Linked DNA regions of Homo sapiens: regions 2 and 3 are each linked to region 1. The links are contacts of gene promoters, found by promoter capture Hi-C in blood cells and fetal thymus (Javierre and others, 2016). All regions are on one chromosome and are shown on one strand. Each heading gives the region's core, a stretch centred on a gene start or on the middle of the fragment in contact. The rest is flanking DNA. Distances are from core to core; before and after follow the strand shown.

Evidence for each region. The method cuts DNA at HindIII sites, captures the fragments that hold promoters and counts their contacts. A CHiCAGO score of 5 or more calls a contact.
Region 2: a fragment that was not itself captured here is called in contact with the fragment with the promoter of MAB21L2 in region 1 in 1 of 17 cell types (megakaryocytes); the score reaches 5.1 in megakaryocytes.
Region 3: a contact is called between a fragment that was not itself captured here and the fragment with the promoter of MAB21L2 in region 1, in 1 of 17 cell types (megakaryocytes). The highest score is 5.9, in megakaryocytes.

Annotation. Positions count from the first base shown.
Region 1 is chr4:150,580,046-150,584,190 of GRCh38, reverse strand. It overlaps MAB21L2 (mab-21 like 2), which reads right to left and starts at 2,040. Exons shown (of 1, transcript NM_006439.5): 1 at 1-2,040. The coding sequence starts at 1,161. The coding sequence ends at 82. The region is part of intron 40 of LRBA (LPS responsive beige-like anchor protein); the gene reads left to right. LRBA-AS1 (LRBA antisense RNA 1) reads right to left here. Exons shown (of 2, transcript NR_149035.1): 2 at 2,957-4,145. The HindIII fragment of the contact is 6,793 bases long and covers 1-4,145 here.
Region 2 is chr4:150,479,462-150,483,424 of GRCh38, reverse strand. All of the region lies in intron 42 of LRBA (LPS responsive beige-like anchor protein), which reads left to right. Among named protein-coding and RNA genes, the nearest start is that of LRBA-AS1, 98 kb to the left of the region's middle. The HindIII fragment of the contact is 2,221 bases long and covers 554-2,774 here.
Region 3 is chr4:150,457,651-150,461,679 of GRCh38, reverse strand. All of the region lies in intron 44 of LRBA (LPS responsive beige-like anchor protein), which reads left to right. Among named protein-coding and RNA genes, the nearest start is that of LRBA-AS1, 120 kb to the left of the region's middle. The HindIII fragment of the contact is 747 bases long and covers 1,726-2,472 here.

The DNA.
Region 1 (4,145 bases), core at 791-3,290:
GAGTTTCTGCTGTTTATAGCAGAGTTGTGTGTCTGAGAGAGCACGCCCGTTTGTGTCGCTTTTCAAGCAGTCCCCAGCACCCTATAGTTTGTCCAGGCTTTTGGGATTGGTGAGAATTTCCCTGGCCAACCTCCAGGTCTGCTTGGCAGCGCTCTCCAGGGCCGAATGGGGCTTGCCCTGAAAGAGGTCGAGGTTGGGCAGAAAGTAGTGAGGGCAGCGGCGGCACTGCAGGCAGGAGATGAGCTGCAGCAGGATGCCGTTGAGCCGGTCGCCCAGGCACGACTCGTCCCAGTCCGTTTCTCGTGGGTGTTTCTCGCACTCGTACAGCAGCAGCGTCTTCATGTGGTAGTTGTTGAGCGGCTGGCCGGGTAGCTCCAGGTGGCGGTCCCGCAGAGTCTTCAGCACTGAGAGGCACTTGTTTCGGCAGCCGCCCATCAGCAGGCGGTTCTCCGCCTCCCCGAACTGTAGCACCCAGGCGTCGCTCTCTGCCGAGCTCTGCTTGCCGGTCAGCGAGTAGCACTCCTTCGAGAGCAAGTTGAACCCTTCGGCCTTGACCTCGGCCACCCGATTGGGGCCGGGCCAAGGGATGTGGGGCATAGGCCACTGTGCCGCGCTGCGAGGCCAGATCCCGGTGCACTTGAACGCCGGAGTGATTTGCACCACATAGCGCTCCCTGATGCGCAACTTGACCTCGCTGGTGTCCGCGATCATCTTGACCACATCCCGATAGCTGCACTTGTCCACCGCCTGGGCCACCAGCGTCTGGAAACGCGAGCGGATCTTACGCGCTGAGAGATAGCCCGACGCCGTGATGAACTCGACCCAGAGAGACATGCTCCGCTTCCGCCCATCGCTCAGTTTGAGCACTGCGCAGCCGGGCAGCGAGCCGTCGTCCACGAAGTTGAAGACGCCCATCTGGTTTAGGTAGAGCACCACCTCAAATTCGGTGGGCGAAATGACCTCGAGCCCCTCGTAGCGGGCATCGATCTCGCTCAAGGAGCTGATGAAGCGAGGCTCCTGCACCTCCACTTCCTTGAGCACGTCCGAGACCACCTTACAGACCTCTCGGATGGTTTTGGCGATGGCCGCCTTGCGCGCCTGACAGCGCTCAGTGTAGTACTTATTGAGCTGGTAAACCAGCTTGGCCTGAGCGGCGATCATGTTGGGGCACAGGTCCGGGCTATACACCGGCGTCTCGCAATACGTTGAGGGATCCAAGGCTCACGCACTGGTGGTGGCCCAGCGGCTTTCGAAAGAGGCGGTGCGCTCCCCGTTAAGCCCTACTTTCACTCTCGTTTTCCACCTGGGCTGACCGGCTGATACCGTAGCCGGCTTGTTTTTTCCTTTTCCCTCTTTCGAAACCTCTTTTCTTCTGCAGAAGAATTAGGGGAGAAAAGGTGATTTTCTAAAAAGAAAAGTACCTCTTGGAACCTTTTTGCTTTCTCTTGATATGTAAAGATGACCGTGTGCGAGAGAAGCGGGGTGGGCGTGAGGAAGGAGAAGGAGAGGGAAAAAACTCAGGATACCAAAAGGTTAGGCTTAGATGTCTGCAGCCGAGATTGTCCAGAAATCTGGAAATGAGGTTTTTTAAGTGCCAAAGTAAATTTAAAAATAAAAGCGAAACATTCAGTGGTTCATTCTTAAACTTCTCTTCCACGCTGATAGGACTTCTTCGCTCAGTGTAGGTGAGTGCCTTCTTCCTCACCCTCCCCCAAATGGAAGGTGCAGGAGGTAATTAATGTCCAGAGAGCTGCGAAGTACAACTCAGTCCGCCGTGCACTTGGAGGTTTGCTGACGCCCCACAGTCTCAGCGTGTTGGTCTCGTCTCTTCTCGGGGGGTCGTGTTATCGCAGTTTTCCTCTTTTCCTACTGGAGGCGTTGTTTGGACTGGGTTTGTTTGTTTGTAGTGGGTTCTCCTTGTGTTTCTTTAGGTGCAAACCGCTGGAAGTTGTTTGATAATCATTTCTGCTTCGTAATTTATACTTTTGGCCCTCACAAAATCCGTTTTAGTGTGACGAAGTCGTTGCTTGCGTTGCATCTGGGGTGTAGTTATAACGATTCAGGGTTTTCCTTCTTCTCCTCTAGCTTGCTTTTACAGATTCCACTTTCTGAGTCGTCTCTCCCCCTCCTCTCCCCTCCGACCTCTTTCTCGCCCCGCTCTCCCCCTGCTTCTCTCCCCCGCCCCCCTTCCTCGTGCTCGCTCTCTCTTCTTTCCTCTAACTCTCTCTGTCTCTCTCTCTCCCTCTCTCTTTCTTTCTCTCTCTCCCTCGCTGTTTCCTGGAGTTATTTAGTTTATGAATGGTCCCAGGGCCATCATGAGGGGGTGGAGCTTCAGTTCCTACAATCGCTATCCGAGCTGTCAGTGCTTTAGCCAATCCGAGAGAGAAGACAGGCACGCTTGGCGAACGGTAGCAGCCACCACTGCACTTGATAAAGAAACAGGGTAAAGAGAGAAGTAAGAAAATAGGAGGAGATAATGGGAGTCAAATGCTTGCACACATTTTACAGCCGTTCCTCTTTATCCTCCTCTCTTATCAGTAGCAAAGAAGAAAAAGAGTTTATATAGAAGGGACTCTCCTGGAGATGGCTGGAATAACGCGAGGGAGAGTAGCAATGGTTCAGAAAGGTTCACTTTTTTTTTTTTTAAATGATTCTATCAACATTGTGTAGTAGAAGGTGCAAACTGTAACAAAATTACTTTGGCTTGAAGGCAAATGGGAAGCGAAAGGGGAATCTGGGAAAGGACCTAATTTTTCCAGGTTTTTTCCTCCTTTAAAGTCATCCTCCTTTCTCTTCCCCTCCCCTCCCATTGTTGCCAAGAATCAGAGCAGTTGCTGTATATGTGCACCAGTGAGGGTTGGAGTGGATATAAGGTGAGGGTTTATAAATCTCTTTTTAGTAATTTCGATATGCTGTTTAAAAACAGGGCAGGGCAAAAACTAGTCCAAGCACCTTGTTTGATAATTATTTCATAATTAAGATTCACATGTATTTAATACCATTATTTTATCGTTACAAGAATTAACTAGTTACGAGAGAGAAAATATCTAAGTTGTGAGAAATGGTGCAAACTTACATGTCGTAGAACTTAGTAGGATATACTTTTAAAATAAGCTACTAAAATTGCTTCAAACTTAATGAAAAACAAGGCAAGTAAATGTAAACCTAAAGTTTTCTTAAAATCTTACTGTTGTAAATCTAATTGTGAATGTATTCTTAGGGGGTACAGGTACAGAGTTTCATTTGTAAAATGATTTTATTTTCATAATTGACTCTTGCTTTTAAAAGACTTCACTGCCACAAAAATCTATAACTATCCTGTTATTGATTACACAGATGGCTTCACTCCTCCCTAGGCATTTCAATGAAAGGCATGCATGTGCTTTTAGTATATGTATTATCCTAAACGAGTTGTACCCACTGTAGCCTTTCCATACTTTTGGGTGAAAAAAAAAGCTAGAACATTGTTTCTGATTTGCTTGATACTGAGGGTTTATGTATGAACCTAAGATGTCTGGATTCTGAATCTTTTTAACGTATTTCAGGTAGATGTGATTATTTTTAGTTTGATTTGGGAGGTTATATTCCAGCCCTGGGTTATGCGATAAAAATAAAAATCTATGCGTCCATTTGGGTGAAGACTTCGTTTTAGAAACCTGGTAGTTCGGCTTTTTCAAAACCCCTTGGGAGGGCTTGACTTACCCTCTTAAAGTCCGGCCGGGTGAACCTGAATTGAATTGCATAGGGAAGTTAATTTCTTTCTATCTACTTGGTATCAGACAATTGGGCCTCTTGGTTCTTTCTTACATACCTGGTGCGGACCACAGGCAGTTTGTCACCCTTCCTCTCTCGTTGCCATAAGTCCCTTTCTAAGGAATATTTGCTTAAAAAAAAACTATCTCGGATTTGTTGCTTAGGGTTTGTCTTCCCGCGATTAGGAAGAAGAGTCAGAATTAAGTGTCCGCGCGACTCTTGGACTCCAGAGCTTTAGTTAACTTCTCTGGAGTGGCAGAGACTTGGGCTGCTTGACCTCCAGCCTTCTCCGGGGAGGCCGCGTGCGTCCCGGAACGCCTCGCCGCCTAAGGATCTAGGGGACCTCGCGCCCTCGGAGTTCGCGCCTGTGGGAGCCCGGCTCTAACCCGGGA
Region 2 (3,963 bases), core at 415-2,914, 100 kb after region 1:
ATTTTGAGAAAAAAAAACAAAAGACTTAATATAAAATTACATTCATTAGGATAGCTTGTTATTTAAGGATAGACTCATATAAACCAATGGACTGTAACAGAGTCCAGAAATAGACTCAAACATATATGATCAATTTGATTTTTGACAAAGATGTCAAGGTATGCCCAGGGGGGAAAATGATCTTTTTAACAAATGATGATGAACAATTGGTTATCCATATCCAAAAAGAAAAAGAACCTCACCCCTTAATTTTACATATAAATTAACTCAAAATGTAACAGAAAAAAACGTAGTGTAGACAAACGTAAGTGCTAAAAGTAGAACTTCTTGAAAGAACACATAGGAGAAAAATCTTTGTGACCTTGAATTAGGTAAATATTTCTTTAGATCTTTAATTGATTTCATTAAAATAAAAAACATTTGCTTTGAAATGCCAACTCTTAAGAAAATGAAAATATACGCCAGACTGGATTAAAGTATTTGTTCAACTTATGTGTGATAAAGCACTTACATCCAGGATATGTAGGAAACATACTATATAACAAGATAAGCTTGCTACAAAAAAAAAATGTAAGTTTTGAACAGATACTTCAACAAAGAATAGATATAGATACCGAATAAACACATGAAAAGATGCCAAACATCATTAGTCATCTGAGAAATGCTGATTAAAACAACAGTGTGATCCCATGACATACCTATTCGAATAACTTTTTAAAAATCTAACAATACCAAGAGCAGTATACAAGGCAACTGGAACCTCACATGTTGTTGATGGGGAAGTAAAGTGGTACGACTTCTTTGTAAACAATTTGGCACTTTCATATAGAATTAACCATACACTTTCCCATACATCCTAGGAGTCTCACTCTAGGTCTCTTACCCTAGAGGAATGAAAATATATGTTCATGCAATGACTGCTTCATGAATATTTATAGCAGCCATATTCATCACAAAAATTGGAAATAACCAAGATGGTTATCAACTGGTAAATGGACAAACTGTGATAAATCCATACAATGGAATCTATATAGTACTTAGTAATAAAAAGGAGTGAAGCACTAATACATGCAACAACACAGATGAATTTGAAAATATTATACTAGGTGTACAAAGCCAAAACAAAAGGCTGCATGTTGTATGATTCCATTTATATGACATTCTGGAAAAAGCATAGCTGTTAGGGACAGAAAACAGAGCAATGATTGCTAGGAGCTATGGGAAAAGAGGAAGAATTGCATACAAGGGAGAATAAAAGGAACTTTTGGGGATCATGGAAATATTCCATGTCATAATTGTTCTTACATAAGCCTCTATGTTTAGAAAACTCATTATATTGTACACCTAAAAATAATGAATTTTTCTCTATGTAAATTATTCTTCAACAAACTTGATTTTCAAAAACAACAACAAAGAATGTGTAAAGTTAATGAGGATGTATAGGTTAGGAACTTAATGTATATCATACTAATTCCACTCTTAGGCATTTATCAAGAGTAATGAAAACATACATATTCACATTTACTTTTAAGCAAATATTAATAGCAGTTTTATTCCAGTCTCAAATTGTAAACATTTCTGATGTCCATCAACTGTGAGTGGCTAAACAGATTGCAATACCTGTATTCACTGGAATAAATGAAATACCACTCAGAAATAAAAGGGAAATGACTACTGGTACATGCAACAACATGGATGAATTTCAAAAGTGTTATGCTAAATGAAAGAAATTAAACATTACGGGCTCCATACATCATAGCCATAGGCCATGGTTTTATTTATATGAAATTACTGAAAAAGCAAAACTACACAATGACAGAAAGCAGATTATTGGTTACCAGGGGCCAAGAGTTGGGGCAAGGGAATTAGCTGCAGAGGGTTATGAGGGACCTTTTAGAGTGTATCTTGGTTGTGGTGGTGGTTACAGAAACATATATATATATTCAAATCTCATCAAATTGTACACTTAAGTTTGATAAATATTATACATTTAATATAATGTATTAAATTATATCTCTTCCTCAAGAAACCACAAATAGTGCTCCCATGTGATCCAGAGTTCCCACTACTGGGCATCTATCCACACGAAAGGATATCAGTACATTGAAGAGACATCTGCACCCACCATGTTTATTGCAGGACTGTTCACACTAGCAAAGAGATGGAATCAGTGGTGTTCAGCAACAGATAAGTGGATAAGGAAAAGGTGCCATATATACACAATGGAATACTATTCAGCCATAAAAAAACATGGAATCTTGTCATTGGTGGCAGCATGGATGGAACTGCAGGACATTATATTAAGTGAAATAAGCCAGGCACAGAAAGTTAAACACTGCGTGTTCTCACTCATATGTGGAAGCTACCAAAAGGTTAATCTCCATATGAGTAAAAAGTAGAACAGTGGATACTCGAGGATCAAAAGGGTAGTGGGGAGGGAGAGATGATAGGGAGAGATTTGTTAAAGTATACAAAATAAGAGCTGGACTGAGGAATAAATTCTAAAGTTCTATATAACACTGTAGGATGACTAGAGTTAGCAGTAATACAGTTTCAAATAGCTAGGAGGAGGATTTTGACTGTTGCTAACACAAGTAAATGATAAATGTTTTAGATAATGGGTGTCCTAATTACCTGATCTGATCACTATGTCTTATGTATATCACATCACTGCGTACACCATAAATATGTACAATTATTACATCTATGTAAAACTGTTTAAATAAATATAAAAAATTAATTATATTCCAATCACAATTATTGAAAGATAAGCTTTCTAAGCATATTTAAAAATATCTAAGCCAAAAGTGCTTATTACATCTGTACATGTGATGCTGTTTTAAAAAAGTGTTTATTACAATCATTTTAGTATGTGCTATAGCATTATTTAATATACACATGATAAATCTGAAACTTTTCATCGTTTTGATAAAAATGATTGGATTTTGCTCTATTACATCATACAATTTTTTATTTAATATAAATATTAAATCTATAGATTAAGGATTTTGTAACTATATTTAATTAAAACCTGTATGTGTAGCCTCTGGTAAATCAGAATTCACATATTAGTTTTGTATTTGAATGTATGGACTTAATAACAAGTATTTATATAGTTGAAAGTAACCTAATAAGTCTCTGAGAGAAATGTTAAAATGGCAAAATATCTCTCATGGTATAGGGTATTGGGAGAGTGTAGGTGTATGCATCTTTCTCCTGTATGCTGGGACTACATTGAAGTAGCATAATTACTGATTATTTCCTTTCATAGTAGGTATTGATTCATCATCAATACAATTTAGTTAACTAATTTAAGAACTGGAAAGAGCGAACACTGGGATTTTTCTATTGATTGAAACATATTCGTGGTGGAAACGTACAGTTTACTTTTAGCATACCTAATTTGGTATTGAATTGAGCTACTTTTGATCAGTGTTTATTTTTAAATTTTAAGTATCCTATTACAAATGCAATTGCGATAGAATGCACAAACATCAGCTAGGATGTTAGTAGTAGCTACAGCCAGCCTGTGGCTGGATGGCTGTCAAAGGAATCTCTCATGTGCTCCTTAGCAGTAGGCCTCAGTTCCTTACCGAGTCAGTTTTTCCATCTGTTACTGGAGTGTTACATGACATGGGAGCTGGCTTCCTGCAGAGCAAGTGATCCAAGAGAGAATGAAGCAGAAACCCCAATTTTTAAAAATTACTTTCTCTTGATAGTTATACACCATCATTTCTGCTACATTGTATTCATTTACAAGTGGGTCACTAAATACAGCCCAAAGTCCAGGGGAGGGGAATTAAGCTCCACCTCTCGAGGATGTATTCCAGAACTACCACAGGTCACAACTTTTATGTAAATGGGGCAAATAAAGTGGTCCTTCTGGATTATAAGCTATGTTGCCTTACAATACCGGTAATGCTTTTGATTAGATAATTTTTATAATTTAATGAGGATTTCAGA
Region 3 (4,029 bases), core at 850-3,349, 120 kb after region 1:
TCCACTTTATTATTATTGTTAACTAATATTTATTGAGCATTTACTATATGCCAGGCATTTGTCTAAGTGTTTTGTGTGTGGTAATTCCTTTAACCTTCACAAAATCCCTTTAAGTAGGTAACATTATTGTTTTTTACAGAGGCAGAAACTAATGCACCATGAGGTCAAGTTGCACGTAGGTAGAATCAGAATTTGAACACTAAGTTTTCAACCTGTAGCTCACAATTGCGTTTTTAAAAAATGAATGGGATACCGTAGCATAACATAAAAAAGAAACCATCACTGTGCATATTGTATAAATCTTCTGCTCAATTTGTTTGAGTGTATGTACATGTGTGTTTTTTAAAGTAACATATTTCTTAACGTGAGCTTTGGCCCAGAAAGTTTGAGAAACTCTGTAATATGCCAATAGTGCCTTCCACTTTTGGCACCAGTTGCTGGTTCTGTTTTAATGTTATTTATGAAGTTGCCTTTCACTTCTCATGCTGAAGTACCTAGTACCTACAAGCAGCATGCTATTGCTTGAAAAAGGAAAGCTTTTTTTCTTTTCAAATTGCCCTACTCTTGTTGTCTTTATCCCAGGTTATGCTCCAGCCTTTTTTGATTAAACCTATTTTACAAAAAAAGCTGAATGTTCGGTTAAAACTAGAGGATCCCCAGTGTTACTGCTTATTCATTTGTTCATTCATTTATTGGTTGTTAATTGAGTACTGTAATATGCCATGGACTGCTAGTTTCTGAAGATGTGAAAGAATAAAATGAAGTCATTACTATCCTAGTAAAAGAATAAGCTGAAGATTTGGGAGAAACAGGAATGGCCAAGATAAAGCAAATACTTACTTTTTAATAATTACAACTCACATTTTTAAAATGAAGGAAAATAGAGAGTTTGAGGAACAAGGTAAAGAAAAATCTGTTTTTCATCTTTAGATTGTAACCACAAAATGAGCTGTTATTTTGGTCCATAGTGCAGAAACAGGAAAATAAAGAGTAGAAGAAAATGAACCTGCACCATGATCTCCTGATTCCTATCTTGCAACATAGGAATCAGAGGAAAATTGACTAAAACTGAATTTTAAATTTTTGTCTAAGCTCTAAGAAATCATGTTTGTTTTGTTTCGTTTTGTTTTTAAACCTATGTTACAATGCTAGACTATTCACACTCTGTTAACCTAGCAGTTTACATTGCCCTAGTTTGGATCCAAATAGTTCTAAAGAGTAGATTCTGACAAAACCGAAGAGAACTGAGTGACAGAACCATAGTGAATTTGTTATTCATTGCTGAGTTGCTCCTGTTTGTGCTTAGTATATGTTTCTGTTTCTCGCTCTCTCTTTCAGGAAAAGTAAGTGATTTTTTTTTCTCTCCTTCATGTATCTCCTACCATTTGGATGTATATTTTTATGTGTGAGATATTTCTGTTTAACACACACATTTAATATACAGCATGCATCTTGACCTGGAATTGACTACCGACATTTAACTGTTGTTGATCAGACAGCACTTCTTTATCTCTTTAAGTTTTAAGTGCTGTTTCTGATGAATGCCAGTCCTTTTAGTCTGCTCTGTAACAGATACACTGGGAATCAATATACCATCTAGATGTCACAGAGGGAAAAGAACACTCTTGGGGGTGGGGGGAATATTGTTTAAACTTGTTAGGTGTTATGGCTTTTACTTCATTTTTCTATTTATTGGGCTTCAGTGAAGCTAAAGGAATTCAAGCTTACCAAAAGAAACACATCTTATGATACTACAACAGTAAATAATAGATCTTAAATTGTTTAAATAAAATATAAATGCAGAGAAAGAAACTAAAAATTACCCCATACTTGATTATGTTTTGGATATGTTTTATTGGCTGACATAATATGTTAAAATAGTTTAATCTTGGCATCAAACATGGATGCTGTTGTATGCCACATTGATTTTAGAGATTATGATATAAATTACATTGTCTGGCCTTGGAAAGTTTGCAGTCTAATAAGCATAAAAATGATATGGGGAGAGTTCCCAACGTATTTGTAGGATTGTGAGGGAAGCCCTAATAGGTGCTTTCCACTATGACAGGCATTTTACATATGCTGTTTCATTTAATTCCTTCAATAACCCTGTAAGGAATGTGTTATTGTCTTTATTTTACAGATAAGGAAACTAAGATTTAGTGAGGTTAAAGAATTCTGGGAGGTCACACATTTTCCAAGTGGTAAGCTCAGGATTTGATCTCAAATCTGTCTGTCAGTCAACTGGTAGACTTTAGGTATAATCTGAAAGAACATTTTAAATTCAATACTTGCTTTATATCTGCTTCATTCCAAAATCCAACTACTCTTCCCTCTGTATTGTCAAAAAGCAAGAGATTGACTTTTTTGGAGAAATTTTACCAGACACGTTTCTGATATGAGAACACCAAGCACACCAGAAGGAGGGTTTAAGGTAAAGGATGGAAAACAGGAGGATTATAACTGAAAGCTTTAAGTACCAAGTCGTGAAAGCCCCTAGACCCCTTCTGCTGTCATGCTATTAGAACTGCGGCAGCTAAGCTTATACCATCCCCACCCCATAAGACAGAAGATTGTATTACTCTTTGGACATATTCACTGGCTCAAAAGAAAACACCTAAAAAAATAAAACATTTAGGGATTCTACTTCGAGCCCACTTGATTTCCCTTCAGTGAAGTCTACCAGTTCACATCACTACTTATGGTCTATATGCTCAGTCAGCTCTTCAGTGTCTCATTCTTAAAAATGGAGGTGCAGCCAAGTATTAGCAAACATTTAAAGACAACCTCTAATGTGAAAGATGACAAAGACCAAAGCAAATAGAAAATCAAAACAAAACCAGAAGAAACAGAGGCAATTTATGAAACAGAAGTGTTTTTTTAAAAAAAAAAAAACTAGAATAAATATTTTCAGATAAAGGGAAACTATTGCATTAATAGAACAAGAAAATTATGCTATGGAAAGTGAATAATCATAAAACAAGAAAGAGCAGTATAAAAATTAATAGAAGAGTTATAAATGCAGATATCTTCTAAAAGGAATATCAACATGATGTGGAGAAAACAGCCTGGAAAGATAAAATTAGACCAGAGCAGGGAATCTTTGGATTTAGATAGAGTTGTATATTCCTGTTACCATTTATAAGTAGAGAGACCTTTAGCAGATTACTTAATTTTGAGGATCCTAGGTAGCAAACTGTGTAGCTATTTAATTTATATAACCCTGAAGAAAATTTTTCATGGGTACACTGACCTTTTTAAATTGAATTATTACGTGTTCAATGTGGCATGTTAGTTTAAAATGTGTCTGTGCAACTCTTTATGTAGAATTTAATACTAAGTTCAGGAAAGTGGAAGCATATATATTTAAGGAATATATATGTATATGGATGTTATAAGGCATTTACAGGATTTGTTGAAGTTTTGCTTTTAAAACAGAATTAGTCCATTTATTTTGTATGGCTGTGTTTCGAAACTTACATCTTTTAAGCATTAGTACTCTGTATAGCAGATTTGGTTTTCTGTAGAAGTTATCTTCTAATAGAAGTTTTTGAATGACTCTAACAGACGTTAATTCTACACTTAATTCAAGCAGCCTCCAAAGACATTGTTTTTTAACATTAGTCAGAAAATGATAAACTGAAGCAACTGAAATGGATTGTGGTTAATATTACTGTCAGGGTGATGAATAATCCTGACATATACCAGCAACACACTGCCAGTCAGTAATCCTTCTCAAAGTTAAGTATTTATTCTCTAATCATGCTAAGTTACTGTGATGTGGAGTGACTATTTATTATTATTTATAAATGAATTGTTTTATTTGCATAGCATTATTAATTTTATCCCATAATGCTTTGTATTTGTTTGGTGCTGGGTGTACAAACTGAGGTAGGTTTAGAGTAGGGAATATCTACTGTGAATTTACATAGGAACTATTTTCAAAACACCTAGGAAATTTTTTTTAAGTTTAATTAGTAGTAGTAACTATCCTCCTGATTTGGCTATTTTTTTTTAATTATAGAAAGT